2 separate regions of the Homo sapiens genome follow, and region 2 is linked to region 1. The links are contacts of gene promoters, found by promoter capture Hi-C in blood cells and fetal thymus (Javierre and others, 2016). All regions are on one chromosome and are shown on one strand. Each heading gives the region's core, a stretch centred on a gene start or on the middle of the fragment in contact. The rest is flanking DNA. Distances are from core to core; before and after follow the strand shown. Region 1 holds the start of TRIM68 (tripartite motif containing 68). Region 2 overlaps TRIM6 (tripartite motif containing 6).

The links. The method cuts DNA at HindIII sites, captures the fragments that hold promoters and counts their contacts. A CHiCAGO score of 5 or more calls a contact.
Region 2: a fragment that was not itself captured here is called in contact with the fragment with the promoter of TRIM68 in region 1 in 1 of 17 cell types (activated CD4 T cells); the score reaches 5.2 in activated CD4 T cells.

Annotation. Positions count from the first base shown.
Region 1 is chr11:4,604,849-4,611,874 of GRCh38, forward strand. It overlaps TRIM68 (tripartite motif containing 68), which reads right to left and starts at 3,383. Exons shown (of 7, transcript NM_018073.8): 1 at 3,179-3,383; 2 at 231-713. The coding sequence starts at 656. RefSeq lists silencers at 2,948-3,027, 3,338-3,547. The HindIII fragment of the contact is 6,370 bases long and covers 1-4,803 here.
Region 2 is chr11:5,596,869-5,601,776 of GRCh38, forward strand. TRIM6 (tripartite motif containing 6) reads left to right here. Exons shown (of 8, transcript NM_001003818.3): 1 at 1-46. The coding sequence starts at 30. It overlaps TRIM6-TRIM34 (TRIM6-TRIM34 readthrough), which reads left to right. Exons shown (of 14, transcript NM_001003819.4): 1 at 1-46. The coding sequence starts at 30. It also overlaps a transcript of TRIM5 not described here. Among named protein-coding and RNA genes, the nearest start is that of TRIM6-TRIM34, 2.7 kb to the left of the region's middle. RefSeq lists enhancers at 1-457, 3,491-3,785. The HindIII fragment of the contact is 1,010 bases long and covers 886-1,895 here.

The DNA of each region.
Region 1 (7,026 bases), core at 2,133-4,632:
TTGAGCCCTGTTAGGATGTAGGTGTAGAGGAAGTGGGAGAGCAGGAAATCAAGGAAGGTCATGAATACAAGGAAAGGTATAGCTCTCTGTATCAGATTCCAGGGATCTCTGGGTGTCAGGAACCAAAGGAGTTAGCTCTCAGTCTGTGGTGCTGGTGGTCAAGCCCTTGATCTAGAAACAGCCAACTTGGGGCCGGGGTTAGACTGGAGTGGCCAGCTTCCATCTCTCACCTTGTACTCCCAGGCAACATCCTCCATTGGCACAACACTGTGGGCCTCATGCTCTGGGGACTGGCTGCAGGCCTCACACATTATCAAGACATCCTCTTTGCAGAACATCTTCAGCTTTTCCCCATGGCGCTCACACAGGTCACCCTTCAGCCCCATTCCTGGATGTAGCCTTAGCAGACGGACTTTTTCTACAACATTGGCCAGCTGCCAATTAGGCCGCAGGTTCCTTGGCTGGACAGGAGCTCGACAGAGGGGACAGGTGTAACCCCAGTTCTGGGATTCTCCTGGGATCTCCCAGAGTCCAGAGAGACAGCTGTGGCAGAAGCTGTGGCCACAGTCAATGCTCATGGGCTCCCTCAGGAAGGTCATACAGATGGGACAGGCCACTTCTTCCACAATGGCTTCCACCAAGGCTGTGGGATCCATGGTTCCTTCTCACACCCTCCTCAGAACATGAATGAAACCAGGGAGAAGTAGTAAAGGCTGAGAAGAAGAAAAGAAAGACAAATAAGAGAAAAAGGTAACAGAGGAACAGAGAGATCAGTAACAGGAATAATTAATTTCTGGGGGAAAACCACCTTCCTTTTGACCCTTTACTGACCTTCTTTAATAAGCATTGGCCTTTCCAACTGAAGGGTGCATGGTCTGAACGGGCCACATTACTCATACCATGAAGGGGATAATGGGGATGCCTAAGTGAGTGAATATTGGGAGTCCTCGGTTTTCATTCACTTGGTCAACTCTGATTTTCCTCTGGGTTTGCTCTACTTGACCATTACCACTCCAATCATGCTCTACAAATCAGCATTATTTCTCTTAAACTTGGGTAAGTTCACATAAAATGTGGTATTTCAGTATCTGAAGTAAGGCCATAAATACCTCCAGCCTCACTCTCTGGTATGTTTATATTTACATTAATATAATTCAAAGTGTCAAAAGGTAGTATGCCAGAAGCCCATTGCCTACAAGCTCAATTTGTTTTCTTGTGTTGCACACTAAAATGCAAAAACTGTAAAGGAAACAGCAGTTCTTTTCCTGTGCCTTTTAAACCCCTGCCCACTGCTCCAGCACTAATGTACTTATTATTCACCAAGATGTCAAGGTAGTCTTCTGAGCTTTTAGTGATATGCTAGAAGCAGAGATGAAATAACATCCCTTGGAGATTAAAACAAAGATCATTTGATGATCATCACACCCATATTGATGAAATCACTACACCAGCAAGAAATCTGAGATTTTTGCCAGGGCCACATATGGGCATGGAACTTGGTCAATGGCAGGCTCTTGGCTCAGTTGGCAATATTTATTCATTCACTTTGCTAGTTTGTGTTACCAGCTAGAATCTATACAAGGAAGGGACATGTTGATCCTAGTTCCTGTTGTATCCTCAGCACCTAAACAGCACCTGCAATGCAGATATTGCTGAGTAAATATTTGTTGAATGAATTAACCAGCTAGACATAGGAAATAGTTCCTAAACCCAAAATCCTTTTAGCATTTGTGAGGTAAATTGAGAGCATACATTAATAATAAAAGCAAGCACTCTTTGAGCAGTTCTATGATGTGCCAGGCACTGTTCTGAGCACTTTACATGAATTAAGTTGGTTTATTTCACAACCCTAGGCAGAGGCCATTATTGTTCTCATTTTACAGATGTTTGGCTTGGGGCTCTGCCATCTATCTTGGGCAAATTTCTTAACCTCTTTAGCTTTAAGGTATAATACAAATTCAAGAGGAGAGAAAAATCACTGTGGTTTAGCGCAGTCCAGTAGCAGGAAGCAGGAAGCAGAGCAGTAAATCTTGCAGGACTCTGATATGCCATTGGCAGGGCATGCCTTCTCACTAGACTCCCTGCCTCCTGCTTTTCTTCCTCCCACTATCACTACCAAACTGTGGGATCCAGTATCCTAAAACCTCATTTTGGTAAATCACTAACTTACTAAATAATCTATCCTGGCTCCCGGTTAACAAGATCTCTCCTTGAAACAGCACCTGTGCCCAGCTAGGCAAAGGAATAAACTTCCACACACTCCCGCAAACCCCTCGTCCATTCAATCTACCTGACTTGGGTGCCTGCTATTCTCCCAGCTGAAAATGACTTCTACATGATCCTGCCTTTGACGTCATTTGCCATGTATTCGTCTATTGTCTTACTTCCCATACTAGAACTTTTTCATGTGGATAGGGTCATTGTCTGTTTTGTCCATTTCTATTTCCCCAGTGCCAAGAACAGTGCCTCAAATACTTGTTGAATACGTGAAAACTAAATGTAAATGTTGAGTTCCAACCGATAGTAGATTGAAAGTGGAGGATGTGTTAATATCCTTAGCTAAGTCAGTAGAGACATTAAGAGACACCATCTAAAGTCAATAAAACAATAAATGGAAGTTGATACCCATTATTTAAAGCTACAAATGGAAGACCTAAAATAGCGATGGAAAATTGACAAGATTGTGGCAGTAAGAAAGTAAGGCAAAGAAATATCAAAATGATAAATCCAGAAATACAGTGGAACGCATATTATTTTGATTTAGGGTGCTAAAAACATCTAAATGGGGACAAACTAAAAGTGGCAGCCTCTGCAAAGATCTGGGGATGGGTAGTTACTGCTCTTCAAAATAAGACCTGCTTTAATGTTTGACTTTTTATTATACATGAATTACTTTGAGAAAATTCAAATAATTAAACGTTCGGTTGCTTTGACTGTGCCTTCCGTAGGGTACAGCGAGAGTCTGAGAAGGGCATTTGAGAAGGGGGCGGGGCCTGGAAGACTTCCAGTTAGGACCCCAGCGGGAAGGGAGTCGAGGGGCGGGCGGTAACCTCCGGAGTCAGGGAGCAGCTCCTGGCCTGGCCACAGGGCGTTGGGCAGGTCCCCAGGACAGCGGGCGGGTGGGGGTAAAGTGAGCGTGCGGGATCTGACTTCAGAAAAGGCAGAGTTATCTACCCACCTCCCTCCTCGGCCCGGACTGGCGCTTCGCGGCGGAAACTCAAAGTGAAGAAGCCTGGTTCCGCAGCGTCCAATGGCCCAGCGTCAGAAGCTGCCGTTCCCGGCAGCTCAGCACTTAGGGCCAGAGAGCGGCAGAGGCCCAGAACCCAAAGCCCGGCAGCGCAGGCCCAGTAGCCCGCAGCTCCCAGAATACTACACCCGGCTCTAGGCCCCGCTCGCGGGACGGCAGCCAATGAGCGGCCGGCTGGGCCCAGGTTGGCTTCGCCCAGGGGGCGGTGTGTTTGTGGGGGCAGCCAATCACAGGCAGGGACCAGGGTACCCCTAGCCAATTGGTGATGAGACGGGGGTTTCGGCGCTTCTAGGCATGTCAATGTTTTTTCTCTACTTCCTGGGTTTTTCTGGTCCCTTCACCGACTCAGATTCCCTTAAACTGTAGAGGGTTCTAGGAGTTAGTTCTAGGATAGGTCAAAGGATTGAGGCTCCCAAATGATGCCGCTCAGGCACTGCATTAAGAGAGGCTCAGGTGGCTATTCATTTGCCAGTTTGACTTGTTAAACTCAGAAGCCTGAGATTGGCCAAGTCTGGTTCTGTGACCCATCTTAGCAAAGGGTTGGGCGCACATATGGTGTGGACTCTGCTGTTCCTGGCAAGATTCGCGACCTCTCATGGTTCCAGGCTTTAAATACTGGGTTCTTAAACAAAACAAAACAAAACAAAACAAAACCCTCTCTTTTTTCGTTTTTACTTCAGCAACCAGCTTGTCATCACTATTGCCACAATCCACTTTTAGAGTGAAAAACAGACAACAGAGACCGGGAGTTGATGGAGAAATGGAAACCCTGGTCAAAAATTGTCATTAAAAAAGGAAAAAAAAATTAAACAACTGGTATCCCTTCCTCACCCAAACACATAGACACATGCACGCACACACAAAAACTGTTACTTAAGACAGTGATATGGGTTTTTCTTTGTACTCCCAGGGCCTTGTCCTTCTCTTGACACTTAGGTTTTAATAAGCAAGTGAAGGCACCTCCTATCCGCATAGAAAATAACCAGGAAATCTTCCAATTGAAGCTCGGTTCCAAATTATATAATATCTTAATTGTTAGGACAGATACTCCAGAATGCTCATGCCAGTGTCTGAGCCCCGGCCATGGTTAAAATTCTGAAGGGTGAGGCCCAGAAATTTCCTGCAACAAATAGGTCTATGAGAAAAAACAAAAGTATCTTAGGTCTGAGCTGTACCCTCTGTCTCACCCAGTTTTGGAGAAATGGCTGCTCTAATAGAATAATGAATGGATTAATTGAAATAAGCCATTTTAAACATTTATTTAACATCAATTTTCTTGACAATATTTTACTGGGTGCTGGGATTACAACTATGGGACATATAGTCTCTGCCTTTAAGGAGCTGAAGGTCAAGTTGGTTGTACTGCTCTGGAATCTCTGTGAAGTTAAAACAGTTAATGGGGAGATCATTTTCATGTGTAAGGTGCAATTTGTAACTATGACGGACTGTCAAGAACCCTGGCAATCAGGGTAGCTGGGGGTGGGGGCTTGCGTTCATGTGGGGAAGGCTGGAGAGAGGGCTTTTGAAGACAGACCAGTTTACTTCCAAGGCATAGAAGCTTTCCTTTACAGATGTCTTCAGAATGTTTTGTTTGTTTCTTTATTTGTTTGCTGTGAGACAGGTGTGTCCAGGTGAGGCTCTGTCGTGGACAAATTCCACAGCTGTAGCTGCAGACCCCAACCCTCTGCCCTGAATCCAGGATAGACCAGGACAACAAGATGAGTGGCTAACTGTAGGATGGTGTCCATCTGTGCTCTAGGGGAGGAGTAGCATCAAAGGAGAAGCAAGAACTGAGAACTGTTTGGGGCACTGAAGAAGTAGGACTAAGGAAGAGTTAGGGGGTTAGTACAAATCTGAGGCCTGGTTTTCTGGAAAGAGACCAGAGACTGACCTTATTGCATGTCATACAACATGCTTGCTTAGAGACCCCTAATTTATTTTCTTCTCTTACTCTTTCTGAGGAAGCATGAGCCACACCCTCAGTTAGTTTTGTATAATCTTAGGCTTGATGAGAATATAATCTTAGTCTTGAAGGCTTTAAAGGGGAAGAAATAGCTGTCTGTGTTAGTGGTGTGTCAGTCAGCAGGAGAACCTGCTAGGGGTGGAAGGAGGAGGGTAGGAGTATAGCCTAGACCATGAGTAGATACCCCGCTCCACCTTGAAAGTCTCCTACTGGACCTCTTATGATGGAGTTAATACCTCCTGTTTCCTCTATTCCAGATTGTTTTCAGTTTCCAGAAGGCAAAACTGACATCTCCCAGGAGTCCAAGTAGGAGATTAGGGCCTCCCGTCCCTATCTACTCAGTGCTAGCCTTGGCTAAGAGAGAGGAAATTCCTGCCTAGAGGGGAAAATCTGCAGGACTTCGTTACCACTTTCACTTTGGCAGAGGAAGGAGGTCAGGGATGGAAGGGGAAGTGAGTCTAGAAATTAAAACATAGAATTCTGTCTACAGGTGGTGGAGAGCCTTTCTGAAAGTGCTTCTGGGTTGAGGCTGTCACCTAGATTTTATATTAGAGTTTAAGTGTTCCAAAAAATTAAGAAGCAGGAAGTAGAAAAGAGAGAACAATTTCAGAAGCAGACGAAAGGAACAGTAATAGGAAGATCTAGCAAGGATGTGGTGGGGCAGTTTCAGTGTGAGATGCCATGGACAGGAAAATGGCAGCATATGTGTGTGTGTGTGTGTGTGTGTGTGTGCATGAGACAGAGAGACATAAATAACTAAATAAAAAGGTATATATCAGAATATAGATGTATATTACAATAGCAATTGTTAATAGTGACACACAACTAACAGTAAGACTTTTGTACAGTGGGAAGCAGAACAAGCCAAATGCTGTTATTAGTTTTGATATCAGAGTTGCATTAGATTAAAACAAGAAGAAGTAGCTTTATATGTCCTTGTATTTGATGTCTAATTCAAGTTCTTTAAATGTCGAATCTGTTTCAGTAAGTTACTATTCTCAAAGTATCAGTGTCTCCATGGTTATGAACAATTACACAAATAATTATTTTTATTTTTATTTGCCATTACTTTGAGTTTTTTTCTTGATTCTAATCCCTGATATTATATATTTACCACTACTTTATGTTTTTTTTTCTGAGTGACATATCTTTCTTTCCAAAGATCTGTCTAATTGATTGTTCCTTTCAAAGAACCTGTTAATTTGTTATTTCAATTTTTTTCTGATTTTATCTTTATTATTTTTTCTTGATTTATTTTACTTATATTTATTGTCTTATTTTTCTTGCTTCTTGCATTGATTGAGGAGTGTAAAGTTTTCCCTAAATATAAGTCAGGCTATATACCATAAATCATCTTGGTGCTTTCGTTATCATTTGTTATTAAAAAAATTATTAAGCACAGTTTCAAATTTGCTTTTCTCTTGAAATTACTTAATTAAATTGAAATTCTCTCTCTATATATATAATTTATTTAGGTTTGTTAGCATTTTATAACCACAATGCAATAAGAGTTTAAAAAATGCCATTATAACTTATCATTTGGGAAACTGTTTTGTGGCCAACTATATAATTGCATTATATAATTGTTCAGAAGGTACTGGAAGAGAAGGCATATTCTCTATAGTGGAAAATACTAAATTATATAGTCTTCTTATCAGAGTGTAAAATGTGTTTGTAGGGATTTGGCCTAACTCATTGCCACGTGAATAGCAGACAACTGAGAGAAGAGCCAGTCAATCAAAATGCCTACTAAAAACAAGAGTTGAAAATGCCAGAAACCTATTTTAAGCATAAAAAGGACTTATTAAAGAACATT
Region 2 (4,908 bases), core at 141-2,640, 990 kb after region 1:
CTGGAACTTCTTGGCTTCTCATTCCCCAGATGTGCGGGTCAGAGAGGTATGTCTACCGTTCTGTTGACTGGCTCTTATTGTCACTTCTGGCAGAGGTGACAGGGCAGTGAAAGAGATAAGGTCCTTTCCCTTTCGGAACTCATTATATCTTTATTTCTTTTTCTTTCTCACTGCAAATGACCCCACTGAGGTTAGAGACATTTTAATCAGTCAGTCAATAGAGACAGAAATGTGTGGTTAGGAGCATAGATGCCGCAGCCAGACTGCATGTGTTCAAATCCTGACTCTGACAGACACTGGCTGTGTGCCCGAAGACTGTTAACTTGACTTCTTTGAGCTTTAGTTTCTTCCATCTATAAGATGGACGGAGTAATATGTATATCTTAGAGTTTTGGTGAGGATTGAGTGAGACAGATTTAAACACGTAGGAGGCTGCCTGACACAAATTATGGTCATTATTACTGGCAAACTCCATGCCTAGCTTTAAAAAAATGCACAATCAAAACAATTTTTAAATTATAGGTTTCTGAAATGCAGGGGGTAGAAATTCTTTTGAAGTGGAAATTAAATTTTTTGTTTTGAAACTGATTATGTTCCAATTCAAATATTTATTGAGTCCTGTTAGATAATCAATTGCAGATAATAGGTTAAATATAACCCTACACAAAGATAAAAAAAAATGTTATTCCTAAAGTGCAAGAACTCATGCCCAACTCACTTATAAATGCAACTGCCACCTATTTTATTCCACTTTCACTAGGGCTCCCAGCTGGTGGACGGGCCCGCTCTGTCATTCCTAACTCTGAACCCCCAGCCTACACCAGCCCCAGTATCCCCTGCTGAGTCACTGATTTTTATTCTGAAAGCCATTTTGATATCGATGCAAGCTTCCATTCTAAAAGATGCTTCGTATCTAAATAGCAGGCCATTCTCTGTCCCCCTCCCTCTTCTAGCTGTTTTGCACCCTAAATTGTATCCACCTGGGAAAGAAGGTCCTTTATCTAAGGCAGTGCTTCTGAAGCCTTAATGTGCGTAAGAATCACCTAGAGAACTTTAATATTAAAGTGCAGATTCTGAATCATTCCAGGAAAGACTGAGATTCTGCATAAAGAACTCCAAGTGCTTGCAGTGTTGCTAGTTAGCAGACCTTTTTCAGGCGTCTGGTTCTGATTTAATTGGTCCCACCTGGTTGTGAATTTGGGCTCTTTCTTCTGCTAATTTGATGCACTGGGCTCTGGGACTGCAGGCTCTTCTCGTCTGCACTCCTCACAGTCAGAATGCCTTCTCTCAGCCCGTCCACACTGCTCTGGAGACTTGGCCTCAGTTGGAAACTGGCAGCCTCCCATATCTCCCTTGGGCTGCACTTAGCTGCAGTGGGCAGTCAGGGCTTGCTGGTGTGTGGGCAAGGGTCACCTATGCTAACTGTATGCTCCCCTCCTTCACAATTTCTTTCCCAAGCCTCAGCTTTGACAAGAGACCTCAACTCTTACAAATCTTTTTTCTGCTCAAGAATTTTTCTCTGTCTAAAGAGAGTATTAGATGAATATCTACAGCGCATATTAGATAGGAAAAAGACATATAATGAACTAGAAATAGAATGAAGCCACATATGTAATGTTACATACTCAAGTAGCCTCATTAAAAATAAGCGGGTGAAATTAATTTTAATACATTTCATTTAACCCAATACATGCAAAATACAATTAGGACATGTGATCAACATAAAAAAATTAATAAGATCCTTTAACTTTTTTAAACTAAATCTTCAAAATCCAATGTGTATTTTGTACCTAAAGCAACCCATTTCTGAGTAGCCACACTTCAAATGCTCAAGAGCCATATCTGGCTACATGTTTGACAACACAGTTCCATTATGCTTAGAAGATCAGAAACCAAGCTTTTAATTTTTCTTGTATTTTTTTGTTTCTGTCAGTTTATTGAGTTCTATCTAGTAAGTTACAAATTGTAAGCATACAGTTCTGTGAATTTTCACAGTTGCAGTCAGCTGTGTAACCACCACCATGATCATGATACATAAAGGGCATTTCCCTTTATGTATTCACCCTTCAAATTTCCTTATGCCCTTTGCAGTTCAAACTTTTCTCCCACTCCTGGGCCCTGGCTTCCACTGATGTACTTTCAAATACCATAGCTTTCTCTTTTCTAGGATTTCACATAAATAGCATCATACAATAACTTAAATTTGATGTTTGGGTTCTTTCACTTTGCATGCTTTTGAGATTTATCTTGTTGTATATATTAACAGTTTAATTGTTTGGTAATATGCCACTGTATGGATACACCACAGTTTGTTCATTTACCAGTTAGTGATGTCATGGATTCTTTTCAGTTTGGGACTATTACTACATTGCATTTATGAGGCAGTAGTTCTCCTTCAAGAGAATTGGGTACGCTAAATACAGTTTTGCCTGAAATGAAAGTGTGCATGTGTTTGTTGGGGAGGATGAATTGGAATTGGACTTTCAATTAAAATATAATACCAATACAATTATTATATTTATTTATTTATTTATTTATTTATTTATTTATTTTGAGACGGAGTCTCGCTCTGTCGCCCAGGCTGGAGTGCAGTGGCACGATCTCGACTCACTGCAAGCTCCACCTTCCGGGTTCACGCCATTCTCCTGCCTCAGCCTCCCGAGTAGCTGGGACTACAGGCATCCGCCACTACACCCAGCTAAATTTTTGTATTTTTAGTAGAGACAGGGTTTCACCGTGTTAGCCAGGATGGTCTCGATCTCCTGACCTTGTGATCCGCCTGCCTCAGCCTCCCAAAGTGCTGGGATTACAGGCTTGGGCCACCGCGCCCGGCCAACACAATTATTTTTTAACAGTAACACTTTGATAAGATAGCACATTTATTTCTATACTCTAGTGCCAACATCAAGGCCAACTATAAGCTCAGCAGTAAGCTATAATTTTCAATCCATTATAAAGTTAATTGATCATTTCCTGTGTTAGCTGCAGTGCTAAGGTCTGGGGCACCTGGAAGATAAATAGAGCCTCTATTGCCTCTAGAGCCTCTATTGCCTCTATTATCAAAGGCAATAGAGCCTTATAGTGCAGTGTGCTAAGTGAGATGATGTGGGTATGGTAGGAGATATTAACAAAGGAAATAATAGTGCAGTTCCCACAGGTGTGATTAATTTGGTTAAACAGACTCTCAGATGATAGGTAAATACGTCTGTAACACCAATTAGTACTACCAGTTAGATGCACAGAGTTCATTAATTTGTTAATTATATTTTGCACCCTTTATGGAGATGAGGAATATAAGGGAGTAATAAGAGCTCCAGCTCTGCAGCCTGCGTATCTGCATTCAACACCGGCCCCGCCACTTGAAAGATCTACTAAATACCAGTTTATACAACTATGAGATGAGATTTAAGGGACATTCATAATGTTGTTATGTGGAATTATTGAGTTATTATGTACAAAATAATTAAATTCTTGCTGAATACCTAATGGGCTTTCTGTAGATATTTGCTGTGAGCATCGCTGCTGCTAAGCATGGCAAAGCTGAAGAGCCAGGCTAGTACTTGCAGAAGCACCACAGAACACTAGATGGCAGCGCCAAGAACCTGTTTTCGGCTCGCTAGATCCCCCAGCAGGGCCGCTAGGAGGCTTATGCTTACATCCCATGACTTTTTCTTACCCTTATCTGAGACACTTTCTCAGGCCCTTTCTTCTAAGGGGAGTGTTGTTATTGGGAGGCAGTTTGATATACTTTTTAAATCCACCAGGTCCTCAAGATGGGGGTAAATTGGTACAATTTACAGGGCCTTGTGTTGAGGCCCACACGGACTGTTTTTTACATCAGTGTACATTTACTTTTGCTGGGAAACCAGCCAAAGACAAGTTAGAGAATTCTGCCTGCTCCCTACGCACTGTGGCCTGTTCAGAACAGCGAGGTCACGCCTGGAACCAGGGCCAGAGCTTCACATAGGCAGTGTTAGCTGGCTCTTCTTTGGTGGCCCAAACACAACTCCAGGTAGACAAGCAGAACAAATGGCTCCCAGTGAAAATAACTCAGTGCTGGAAACAGTTTTAAAAATTTTCTAAAGAGTATTCTCAGTGTGATTTTAAACAATGGTAACGTAATTTATCAACAACTCTTCCAAGAAAAATAGACAATAAAGGTCATATTTCTCAATGAAGATATAAGGTCTCAACTGCCTTACCGGCCACCTCTCCTTACATATGGACCCCCTTAGGATCCTGCTGAAGTTTAAGACAGGCCCTGGCAAAATCCCATCATCAAATAGGATCTCTCTCATTTCCATACTTCGAAAGCACTTGGTCCATGCCTGACTTTCACAGCCTTTACCACTGACTGTCTTTGGTCAAAGTTATGAGTTTGAGGACGAAGCTTTGAACTAGCACCCTGGAAAGGTTAGGTTATGCCAATTCTACAACTTACAAGGTGCATGATTGTGTAAAGTCACTTAATGTCTCTTCTTATTAAAGAATGGAGAATACTCTTATTTATGCAGAGTTGTCCATGAGGGATAAAGAAAGCAAGAGAATGTGATTTCTAAATCACAACTGGTTACAGAATCATGAGTTGTAAAAATATTACCTCCCCAGGCTGGGCGCAGTGGCTCACGCTTGTAATCCCAGCACTTTGGGAGGCCAAGGCAGGCAGATCACTTGAGGTCAGGAGTTCGAGATCAGCCTGGCCAACATGGTAAAACCCTGTCTCTACTAAAAATACAAAAATTAGCTGGGCATGGTGGCGCTCACCTGTAATCCCAGCTACTCAGGAGGCTGAGGCACGAGAATCGCTTGAACCCGGGAGGCAGAGGTTGCAGTGAGCCGAGATAGTGCCACTGCCCTCCAGCCTGGGCGATAGAGCAAGACTCAGTTTCAACAACAACAAAAAAATTA